3 separate regions of the Homo sapiens genome follow, and all the other regions are linked to region 1. Evidence: promoter capture Hi-C in human tissues and cell types (Jung and others, 2019). All regions are on one chromosome and are shown on one strand. Each heading gives the region's core, a stretch centred on a gene start or on the middle of the fragment in contact. The rest is flanking DNA. Distances are from core to core; before and after follow the strand shown. Region 1 holds the start of USP46 (ubiquitin specific peptidase 46). Region 2 has its middle 170 kb from the start of LNX1-AS2. Region 3 has its middle 69 kb from the start of CHIC2.

What was found. Contacts are between HindIII fragments. The study calls those that stand out against the background at their distance.
Region 2: a contact is called between a fragment that was not itself captured here and the fragment with the promoter of USP46 in region 1, in 1 of the 25 tissues and cell types used here (heart left ventricle).
Region 3: a contact is called between a fragment that was not itself captured here and the fragment with the promoter of USP46 in region 1, in 1 of the 25 tissues and cell types used here (lymphoblastoid cells).

What each region holds. Positions count from the first base shown.
Region 1 is chr4:52,657,816-52,661,447 of GRCh38, forward strand. USP46 (ubiquitin specific peptidase 46) reads right to left here and starts at 1,486. Exons shown (of 9, transcript NM_022832.4): 1 at 1,300-1,486. The coding sequence starts at 1,335. It overlaps USP46-DT (USP46 divergent transcript), which reads left to right and starts at 1,591. Exons shown (of 2, transcript NR_125363.1): 1 at 1,591-1,861; 2 at 3,077-3,632. RefSeq lists silencers at 940-1,459, 1,470-1,899. The HindIII fragment of the contact is 4,724 bases long and covers 1-3,632 here.
Region 2 is chr4:53,756,879-53,760,238 of GRCh38, forward strand. No RefSeq gene overlaps it. Among named protein-coding and RNA genes, the nearest start is that of LNX1-AS2, 170 kb to the left of the region's middle. The HindIII fragment of the contact is 4,901 bases long and covers 1-3,360 here.
Region 3 is chr4:53,993,590-53,996,864 of GRCh38, forward strand. No RefSeq gene overlaps it. Among named protein-coding and RNA genes, the nearest start is that of CHIC2, 69 kb to the right of the region's middle. The HindIII fragment of the contact is 3,811 bases long and covers 1-3,275 here.

The DNA.
Region 1 (3,632 bases), core at 236-2,735:
CAGTGGCACGTCCCATTGTGCTGAAAGCTGAAGCCAGCGGGTCTCAATTCCACCCCTGAGCTAACACAAGGCTTCTTAATGCTCCTTTGCCATGTGTTGATCTTGCAACAGAATGTGGGACAGAAGATTTAAAAAGCTATGTGATGGGGGAAGGGCAGCCAGATCACCTTACACCAGGGCTTCTCCATCAAGCTTCCTTGGATTCCCTTTAGGGGCCAGTATTACTAGCTTCAAGGGAGGTTTTCCTCAAACTGGCACTGTAAGAGCACGTGTTGCCTCCGGGGACCCGCTTGGGAGGGGGCTAGAGGGGAGGCGGGGTGCAGTCTAAAGAATGTAGGCAAAACACACATCATCTCACCCTGCAAGGGACAGCAATGCCTTACTCCAATCTGAGCTCCCCAAAGGCTCTGACAAGTGGAGGCGCCAGCAGGGTCCAGCCTGGGGACCCAAGGGCTGGAGGTTCTTCCTACAGAAAAAGGGAAAGCAATGGGGGAAACCCAAATTAAAGTGACCACCGCATCATGGGCTCGGACTGCATCAGAACCCAGTGATGTCCCTGGCTGTATCCATGCCCGCCAGCCTCCCCTAGGTCTACAGCGGATCAGGCAGGATAACCCTGGAGACCTCCTCCAAGCCCACAGCCCGCCCCACCCTTAGGGCCTGCAAATATTACCGCCACAGAGCCTTGTCCCTTTTTCACAGATGGGGAAACTGAGGCATGCGGAGCAAATTACGGTGCTTTTTCAAACCAGGTTGAAGTTCACTTCTCCAGCCACAATTTTGCACTTTTTTTACAGCTTTATTACATTTCCGATTTCTCCAGATACACAATTGCTATTGCAAAGTGAATTTTAAACACCTCGGAAGGACTGAACTCAAAATGAGATGAGGGCAGTCTGGACGTCCAATAAGGCTGTCTTGACCGCAAGAAGAGGATGGGTGCCCCCCACCTCCAGCTTATCCCCCACCCCCTCCCCGGGGACGTTCAGGTTCGGTCGCTTCCCTTCCCTCAAGCCGCTTCCACCGCAACCCGAGGGCGGGGGGCGCAGCAGCGCGGCCCCGGGATCGCCGGGCGGGTTCCGAGGTCCCGGGGCTGAGACGGGCGCCGGGGGCTCGGGGACCCTCCCCGGCCGCTGAGGTGGCTGCGGCCGCGCGCCCAGCTCGGGGGCCGGGAACTTCTGGCGGCGCGGACCCCGCCGCCCCCGCCGCCCCAGCCACCGGGCGTGTGTGCAGCTCGGGCTTCCCTTTCTTTGCCTCGCCGCGAGTCGGGCGCGACCCCGAGGCGGCTCGGCCACTCACCATATTACAGATGGAGGCGATGTTTCGGACAGTCATTAGTCTAAAGGTTGCAGCGATCCCTCACCGCCATCTTTACAAGGGGAAACCGGGACTGCCCATGGTGGCGCGCTGGCGGGGAGGCCGGGCGGCAGCGCGGCGGCCTGGGGTCCGGCTTTCAGTTTGGCTGGGAGAGGGAGGCCGGGAGGAGGAGGCGGCGGCGCGGGGAGGGCGGGGAGGGAGCGCGGAGGGGCGGGGAGTGGCGGAGCGAGGGAGCCTGGGCCGCGGCCGGCGGCGCGGGGAGGAGGGGCGGCCCGGGCGCGCCGCGTGAGTCCGAGCCGGCCGCTCAGAGCGCTCCAGGCTGGGTTCCCGGGCCCCGCCGCGCCGCCTCCTTCCCAGCTCGCCCGCCCAGGCCTGGCCTCCTGCTTTTCCATTTGATTCCCTGCCTCTTTCTATTCGGACTGGAATGCCGGGCCAGGCTCCGGGGCGCGCCGCTGCGGCAGCCGCACCTCGCAGGTCCCCCGGCCGACCCCGACGCGGAAGCGGCGGCCCTCCTCGCCGTCGGGGAGCCAGGGAGCCGGGGACGGTACGGTGCGCGGGGTGGGGAAGCGGGCGGCCCAGGCCGGGGCGAACCCGGGGCCGCCTTCCGTCCTCGCTTTTTCCTCGTCGCCTTCCTCCTGGCGGGCCTCGGCAGCCCCCGGTGTTTATTTTTTGGCGAGGGGTAGGGGTGGCGACGTCCAACTTTTAGTTCCTCCCGAGGGTTCCAACCAGATGGCACCGGCGGGGACCCAAGAAGTAAAATGGGGCGAGGACACCGGAGCGGTCAGAGAGCCCTCGCCAGCTGCGGGCCGGGCGCCCGAGAAAGGGCGCCGGGAAGGGGGAGGAATCCGGGTCTGGGCGGAGGCCAGCAGCGGCGCGCTCGGGCGGCTTGTGACATTAGCGGGTCCAAAGGAGACGTCCCGGTTCCGCGCAAGCACTAGGGACTGTCCAAGGAGTGGAAAGAACGAAAACAAAACTTTTCCATATCTTCAAGGCAGGCATACCCCTCTCGGGTGCACCCAGCCTCTAGTTGTTGAGATGGGCGCTGTATGGGATCATGCACATTTCCCGCATTAAAGGTCGTGGCTGCGGGCTCAGAGCGCGAGTCTGTGCACCACTTAGCAGATAGGTCCACGCGAATTGAAGGGGCCCGTTTCTGAATGTGTGGAACAGTTACACATACAAGGTTGCAATTCGATGCTTTCAAAGGAGAAATTGTACAAGTGAGATGCGTGATAAATTCTTAGATCAGTGTATTTAATGACAAATTGAATCAGAAGAAAAATTAGTTGAAGATAGCTTTTATCTAACCAAGAGTAAAGATTTGAGAGCCGTTGATTGCTAATATCCCTAGAATCTGGGGAGGAAACAGTAAGACAGACTTGTTGACTGAAGGTTTTGGGAGTCATGTCACTGTGTTTTCCAGTGGACATGAGAAATAATATTCCTGCTTAAGTCTTTCAACCTAAATATTATTTCCAAATACATCCTGATGATAATTTCTTCCATTGTAAGTCATGACTGATTTTCTTCTCTCTCTCTCTGTTTTTTAAGAGACAGGTTCTCGCTATGTTGCCCAGCCTGAGGCTGGGCAGCCCCGAGTCATCCCAAACTCCTGGGCTCCAGCAATCATCCCACCTTGGCCTCCCAAAGCGCTGGGACAACAGGCGTGAACCACTGCACCCAATGTTTACATTCCTGATCTCCTTTAATCGCCACCATAACTATCAGCTGGTACATGCTATTATCTCCTTTTTTGCAGATCAGTCACATAAGGCTTAGAGGATCAAGGATCCTGCCCAGATGACTTACCGAAATGTTACAGATTAAGTTGGTGTGGTAACCTGGGCTGAGCACTCTGGGAGAGGAAGAGAAGAGAGAAGACAGGAAACAACTGAACTATGACCAATCCCAGCACGGAGGCCCAGAAAACTTTAAGATTTGAGTATTAATGTCTCAAGGTCAGGAGCAACCTCAAGGCTAAAACTCAGATCTCAGGACTCAATTTCACAGAAGTTCCACTATAAAGGCAATAATCTAAAGCTTTAAATGATATGAAAATTTTGTAATAAGAGTTCAGTATTTCTGCCAACATTGGCGCATGGATTGCAAAGTTCACAGGATTGAAAACACCATCGACATAATGGAAATTGAACAGCATCTGATTACTGAGTGCTATATCAGCAAGTTAAAAGGATCTTTTGCATACCTTTTAATGGTATATATCCTAAAACTGAAGTGTTCAATATAGACATCCAGATTGAAACTCAGGCAGTGAATTACATACACAACAAATCAGTTGAACATGGCAGAGCTTG
Region 2 (3,360 bases), core at 807-3,306, 1.1 Mb after region 1:
GGAAAGGCTAAGGTTTGAATCCTACGTCTGCTGTCTCTGACCTTAAGCAAGTTATTTAAATTTCGAATCTGTTTTTCCTAAAATGACAATAGTATCTATTTCTGAGGATTGAGGTGGGTGTAAATGAGTTTGTAGAGCACACATAAAAAGTGTTCAATAAATGATAACTATTGACTTTAAGAATAATTTTATTACTATAAAATACTATCCCTTATACTATGAAGAAATTATTCAAGCTAGAATTTTTAGCTTTGCTAATTTACAAAATAATCAGATAGTACAATTTCAGCTAAATCCTGAGGTTATATGTAGTTCTAAAGTTTGGAATTAAAAAATTGAATTATGATAGGAAGTAACTTTTTAAATGGTTGGAGGAAATCTGCCTGTAATGAGATACAATTACTACTTATTACACTGAATCCAGATGCAGAGTCAGTGTGTCATTTTCTTCTTTGTACTGAAAATCTTTTTATTTTAAAGGTGAAGCAACACATAGTCTTTTATCCATAACTTAGTGTAGCACAATCTTAGAAAGCCTAAGGCAAATGTGACTTTTCTATGCATGTATGTGTATTTTGAAGAATGTGTAAAACTTATGCTAATGTTTGCACGCGACAACGATATTAGAAAAATAGTCATGTCCTTTTTTTGTAGCCACTTTTCTTCCATACAGGTCCATAAACCTGATGTTACTTACAGAAGAAGCTTTAGATCTAGAATTACTTCCTTTTGAGAACTGATATGCTATGTGATATAGTCTGTGTTTATAAGCGGAAGGCACCTCTTTGGGTAAACATTTCTTTCCACATAATTGAGCTTTTTTTTGCTTATGTCAGTGAGGGGTGATATTTATATTAATAAAACATTATACTTTTAGTGTTTGTAGCACTAATTTGGAATTCCTGATTAAATGTGCCATGAATGTTGTCTTAATTTTTTTTTAAAAAAAGACATAGAGTGAATGAATGGGATTTAAAAACAAAACCCAACTCTATGCTGCCTATAGGAGACTCACTTCAATTTTAAGGACACACATTGTCTGAAAGTAAAGGAATAGAAAAATGTTTTATATAAATGAAACCAAAAAAGAGCAGGGATAGCAATAGTTAAATTAAACAAAATAGATTTTAAGTCAAAAACTGTAAAAACGAGACCAAGAAGGACATTTTATAATGGTAAAGGGGTCAATTCATCAACAGGATAAAATGATTGCAAATATATATGCATGATGGCTGGGTGCAGTGGCTCATGCCTGTAATCCCAGCACTTTGGGAGGCCGAGGTAGGCAAATCGCTTAAGCTGAGGTCAGGAGTTTGAGACCAGCCTGGCAACATGGCAAAACCCCACCTCTACCAAAAATACAAACACGTGTATGGTGGCGCATGTGTGGTCCCAGATACTCAGAGATTCACTTGAGCCCAAGAGGCAGAGGTTGCAGTGAGCCAAGATCAAGCCACTGCACTCCATTCTCGGTGACAGAGTGAGCCCCCATCTCAAAAAAAAAAAAAAAAATATATATATATATATATATATATATATGCATGCAATAATGGCACACCTAAATATATAAAGCAAATATTTAAAAATCTGAAGGAGATATAGACTGCAATAGAATAATAGTGTAGGGGACTTCAATATACCACTTTTGGTAATGGACAAATCATGCAGAGAGAAAATAAACAAGTAAACATCGGACTTAAACAGCATTCAAGAACAAATGGATCTAACAGACATATATAGAGCATTCCATCTAACATCAACAGAATACACATTCTTCTCAAGTACATAAAACATTCTCCAGAATAGATCATATGTTAGGCCACAAGACAAGTCTTAGTAAACTTAAGAAGACTGAAGTCATATCAAGTACTTTTTTGACCACAATGGTATGAAACTAGAAATCAATAGCAGAAGAAATTTTAGAAAATTCACAAATACATGGAAATTAAACAACATGCTCCTGAATAACCAATAGGTCAATAAAGAAATTAAAATGGAAATTTAAAATTATCTTGAGACAAATGAAAATAGAAACACAACATACCAAAACTTATGGGTTTAGCAAAAGCAGTTCTAAGAAAAAAATTTAAAGCAATAAATGCCTACGTCAAAAGAGAAGAAAGATTGCAGATAAACAACTTAGTGCTATGCCTCAAGGAAATAGAAAAGGAAGTACAAAGTAAGCCTAATGTTAGCAAAAAGAAATAAATAATAAAAATCAGAGCAGAAATAAATGAAACAGGGACTCATAAAACAATATAAAAGAACAATGAAACTAAGAGTTGTTTTTTTTAAAGATTAGCAAAACTGACAAACCTTAACAAAAGCTAGACTAATCAAGAAAAAAGAGAAAAGTTCCAAGTAAACAAAATTTCAAGTGAAAGCAGAGACATTACAACTGACACCACAGAAATACAAAGGATCATAAATGACTGCTGTGAATAATTACATGCCAAAAATTGGATAACCTAAAAAAAGGATAAATCCCTAGACACATGCAATCTACCAAGACTGAATCATGAAGAAATAGGAAATCTGTACAGACTAATAACAAGTGAGATCAAATCAGTAATAACTTTCCCATCAAAGAAAAGCCCTTGACCTGGGAGTTTTACTGCTGAATTCCACCAAACATTTAAAGAAGAACTAATACTAATTCGCTATAAACTTTTCAAAAAACTGAAAAGGAGGGAACACTATGAAGCTCTTTTTATGAAGCCAGCATTACCCTGATTTCAAAGCCAGACAAGGACCTCCCAAGACAGGAAAACTACAGGTTAATACCATTGATGAAGAGATGCAAAAATTCTCAACAAAATACTGGCAAACTGAATTCAACAATACATTAAGAGGATCATTCACCATGATCATGTAGGATTTATCCCTGGAATGCAGAATGATTTATGGTTTGCAAATCAATAAATGTGATATACCACGTTGACGGAACAAAAAGAGAAAAACCATATGATCATCTCATTAGATCCATGAAAGTATTTGACAAAATTCAACTTTCATGATAAAAATATTCAACAAATTAGGTATAGAAGGAATGTACTTCAGCATAATGAAGACCATATATAATAAGTCCATAGCTAAGATTATACTCAATGATAAAAAAATCAAAACTCTTTCCTCTAAGACTCAGAGAAAGATAAGGATATCTAATCTACACTTCTATTCGATGTAGTATTGGAACTCCAACAAAACAAGAAAAAGAAATAAAAGGCATCCTAATAGGAAAGGAAGTAAAACTGTTGCTGTCTGCTGATGTTATGGTCTTATATATAGAAAACCCTACAAATTCCACCAAAAAAAACCTGTTAGAGATGATAATCTAAGTAAAGTTGCAAGATACTAGAT
Region 3 (3,275 bases), core at 516-3,015, 1.3 Mb after region 1:
TAATTATTTAGAATTGTTAGTAGGCTAGTCTTTCAGTTTAACAAAGGGCAAAACAGTCTTTCTATACCTCTATTCCTTCGATCTTACATACTCTTTGGTCTCATTGCTAAACAGTGAAACAGTTGAGTTCTTTATTTAAGGAATTTTTACTTGCTAGCTTTACAGGTTAAAACAAATTAACATTGGAGCTTGCTAATTTTGGCTTATTTCAGGGTCAGAATGAGCTTCATCAATGACAGATTTGACCAGGTCCACTCACATTCTCAAAATCTTTCAATAGCTTCAGGCTAGAGTCAAAAAAATTTCAGCATGATACACTTGTCCCTTCTCCCTTTCCTGACCTTATCTCTTGATGCTTCTGCACAATTCATTAAACAGGTATTTTGTACCAGACCATCTCCCCATATTTTCCAATCATACAGAAATCATCAGTACTTTTTTAACACAGCCTTTTCATGTGTTAAGCTTCAACCCATGCAACCTATGACCTTTCCACCCCAAATATATTGCTCCTTTGAAGATCCACCCTATCACTTACTTTCCTTGATTATTAGCACTTTTCATACCATGTTACATGCTTATTCCTCCAGCCTCAACTCTTTAGAAACCAAAAGGCATTATTCTCTTTGCTATCCTTTATACTTGGCATGATGCCCGAGGTTGGGCCAAGCTTAGACCTTAGACCATTTCTTCACCAAATTCAAATGTCTCCCATTTCTTTAGTAATTGGTATGGTTTGGGTCTGTGTTCCCCCACAAATCTCGTGTTGAACTGTAATCCCCAATGTTAGAAGAGGGGCTTTGTGGGAGGTGACTGGATCATGGGGGCAGATTTTTCCCTTGCTATTCTGGTAATAGTGAGTTCTCACAAGATCTGGTTGTTTATAAAAATGTGTAGTACCTCCCCCTTCATTCTCTCTTCCTCCTGCTCTCGCCATGTAGGAAGTGCCTGCTTCCCCTTTGCCTTCTGCCATAAGTTTCCTGAGGCCTCCCCAAAAGCCAAGCAGAAGCCGTCATGCTTCCCGTACAGCCTGTGGAACTATGAGTCAATTAAACCTCTTTTCTTTATGAATTACCCAGTCTCAGGTACTTCTTTATAGCAGTACAAGAACAGAGTAACACAGCAACACATTTCTAGTTCTGTTACTGCACTCAAAAAATCTAAGTTTAATAAATTGTGCATTAGTCATAATGGAGGACAATTGGTTTTCAGATTATTTTCCAAAAATTTATTGTGGATCAGAAGATAACTGGATTTTTTGGATGTGTGCTTCTCAACCAGCAATGTAAGTTCAATAGGTCTTTGGGTTACAGCAGTGTCAACTCTTAAAGTAAACTACGATTTTTTTTTTTTTTTTTTTTTTTTTGAGGAAGTCGTCTTCTGCTTTGCCAGGCCACTGGTTATACATGATTAGGGGACACAGTGTAATAATGAGTCTCCTTGATAACTAGTAATAATGAATCCTAATACCAAAATGCCAATACCAAAAACAAAACACCTCACAGTAGAATGATTACTTGGGGAAGCAGACTGAAGAGCATAGGAACTAGTTACTACTCTCTTTTGTATATTGAAACTTGAAATTGATGCAAAAGCAATAAAAATATTCTTTAAAGCTAAAAATGTAGTTGCTGGGGATAACAGAAATAAAGTCATACAGCTAGTGTGAAATAACTGAGACAATTTATCTATTTAAATATAATGGGCTGTCCTATGAAGAAAAACATATCAAAAGAGTGGCTTTTAAGCATAGATTAAAAAAATTGGTCCAGATTCCTTTCAGTTTCAGGAAAAAAGGTTAATCATGTATTTTAAAACTGTTAAAACTAGGGACAAAGAAAACACACTTGGCATTAAAATGTCAGTAAGTTTTTGAAAAAGATTACCTTGGAAAAGCAATTTTTGTGAGTAAATAAATTTGCTGTAATAGTATGTTCTATCTTCTTCATATTAGCAGTCTCCTATTTCTATAGGATTTGTTTAAAAAACTTCAACAATTATATCAAAGTTTCAAAAAGTTCAAAGCCTTAAACCTCTTGTTGAAGAAAGCAAAAGAACCATTTTGTCAAAACAAACATAAAAACTCAAATTCTGAAATCTAAATGTTATTCCAAGACTATGATTGACTTCCTCTATCTCGCCAACACTTTTAACTATTTAAAAATTGTCTTTTTCGTTGTATTCCGTTTTAAGCTGTTATGATTTTATATATCACCCCAAAATACTCTAAATAATTTTTTTTTTTTTTTGGCAGGGGGACTGGGTCTCATTGCTGCCCAGGCTGGAGAACAGTGGCGTGACCACGGCTCACTGCAGCCTCAACCATCCTGGCAGCTGGGACCACAGGTATGCACCATCATTCCCAGCTTTTTTACATGTTATTTTTATTTGTAGAAATGGGTTCTCCCTATGTTGCCCAGGCTGCTCTCAAACTCCTGGGCTCAAGGGATCCTCCCACCTTAGCCTCCCAAGTAGCTGGGACTACAGGCGCATACCACCATGCCTGGCTAATTTTTAAAAGTTTTTTTAGAGATGGGGTCTCACTGTGTTGCCCAGGCTGGTCTTGTGGGCTCAAGCGATCCTTCTGTCTCAGCCTCTCAAAGGGCAGGGATTACAGGCGTGAATCACTGCAGCCAGCTCTTTAAACAAATTTTAACATACTATTAAATTATCAGTAAATAGGTTTTAACAATGTCAGCTCCTTTACTTCATCTTTCTGTTCAATTAATTAAAACCATTCTCTAATTGATTTTGAATGATTTAATGTCATTTGATCCTGATACAAATTTATTCCAAAAATGCAATTTTGATGAGAACATTAGAATTTTAATTAACATGGACTTACTAAAAAAAGTAGTTCAATAGGGGAAACAAAGGAAAGAACCAAAACACTGTTCATGTCTATCCACTCATGTGTGAAAATGTAGCATTCAAAAATGACAGCACATTTGAAGCATAATTATAGGGACACCATAGTGGTGGAAGAAGACAGTGTAAGAAAGACAACTGTCAGAGTGCGGTACTCTGGAACATCAAAAGGCTATATTCGTCATTGATGGCTGTTTCTTTGAGAACTCCCAAACTATGTAAGTTTCTGAAACTGCTCCAGGCATTCAATAAAGCAAAAAGTACACTTATAAAAGTGTTTAAAACTTTGTGATTTTTCAAGTATATTTTATAGTTTTATCAAAAATATATCTAAAGTTTTTTTTTAAGTAGCTAAATTTTCAAACTGCACAATGACAAGCTCTTAAATGGGGGATTCTGGTCAAAAG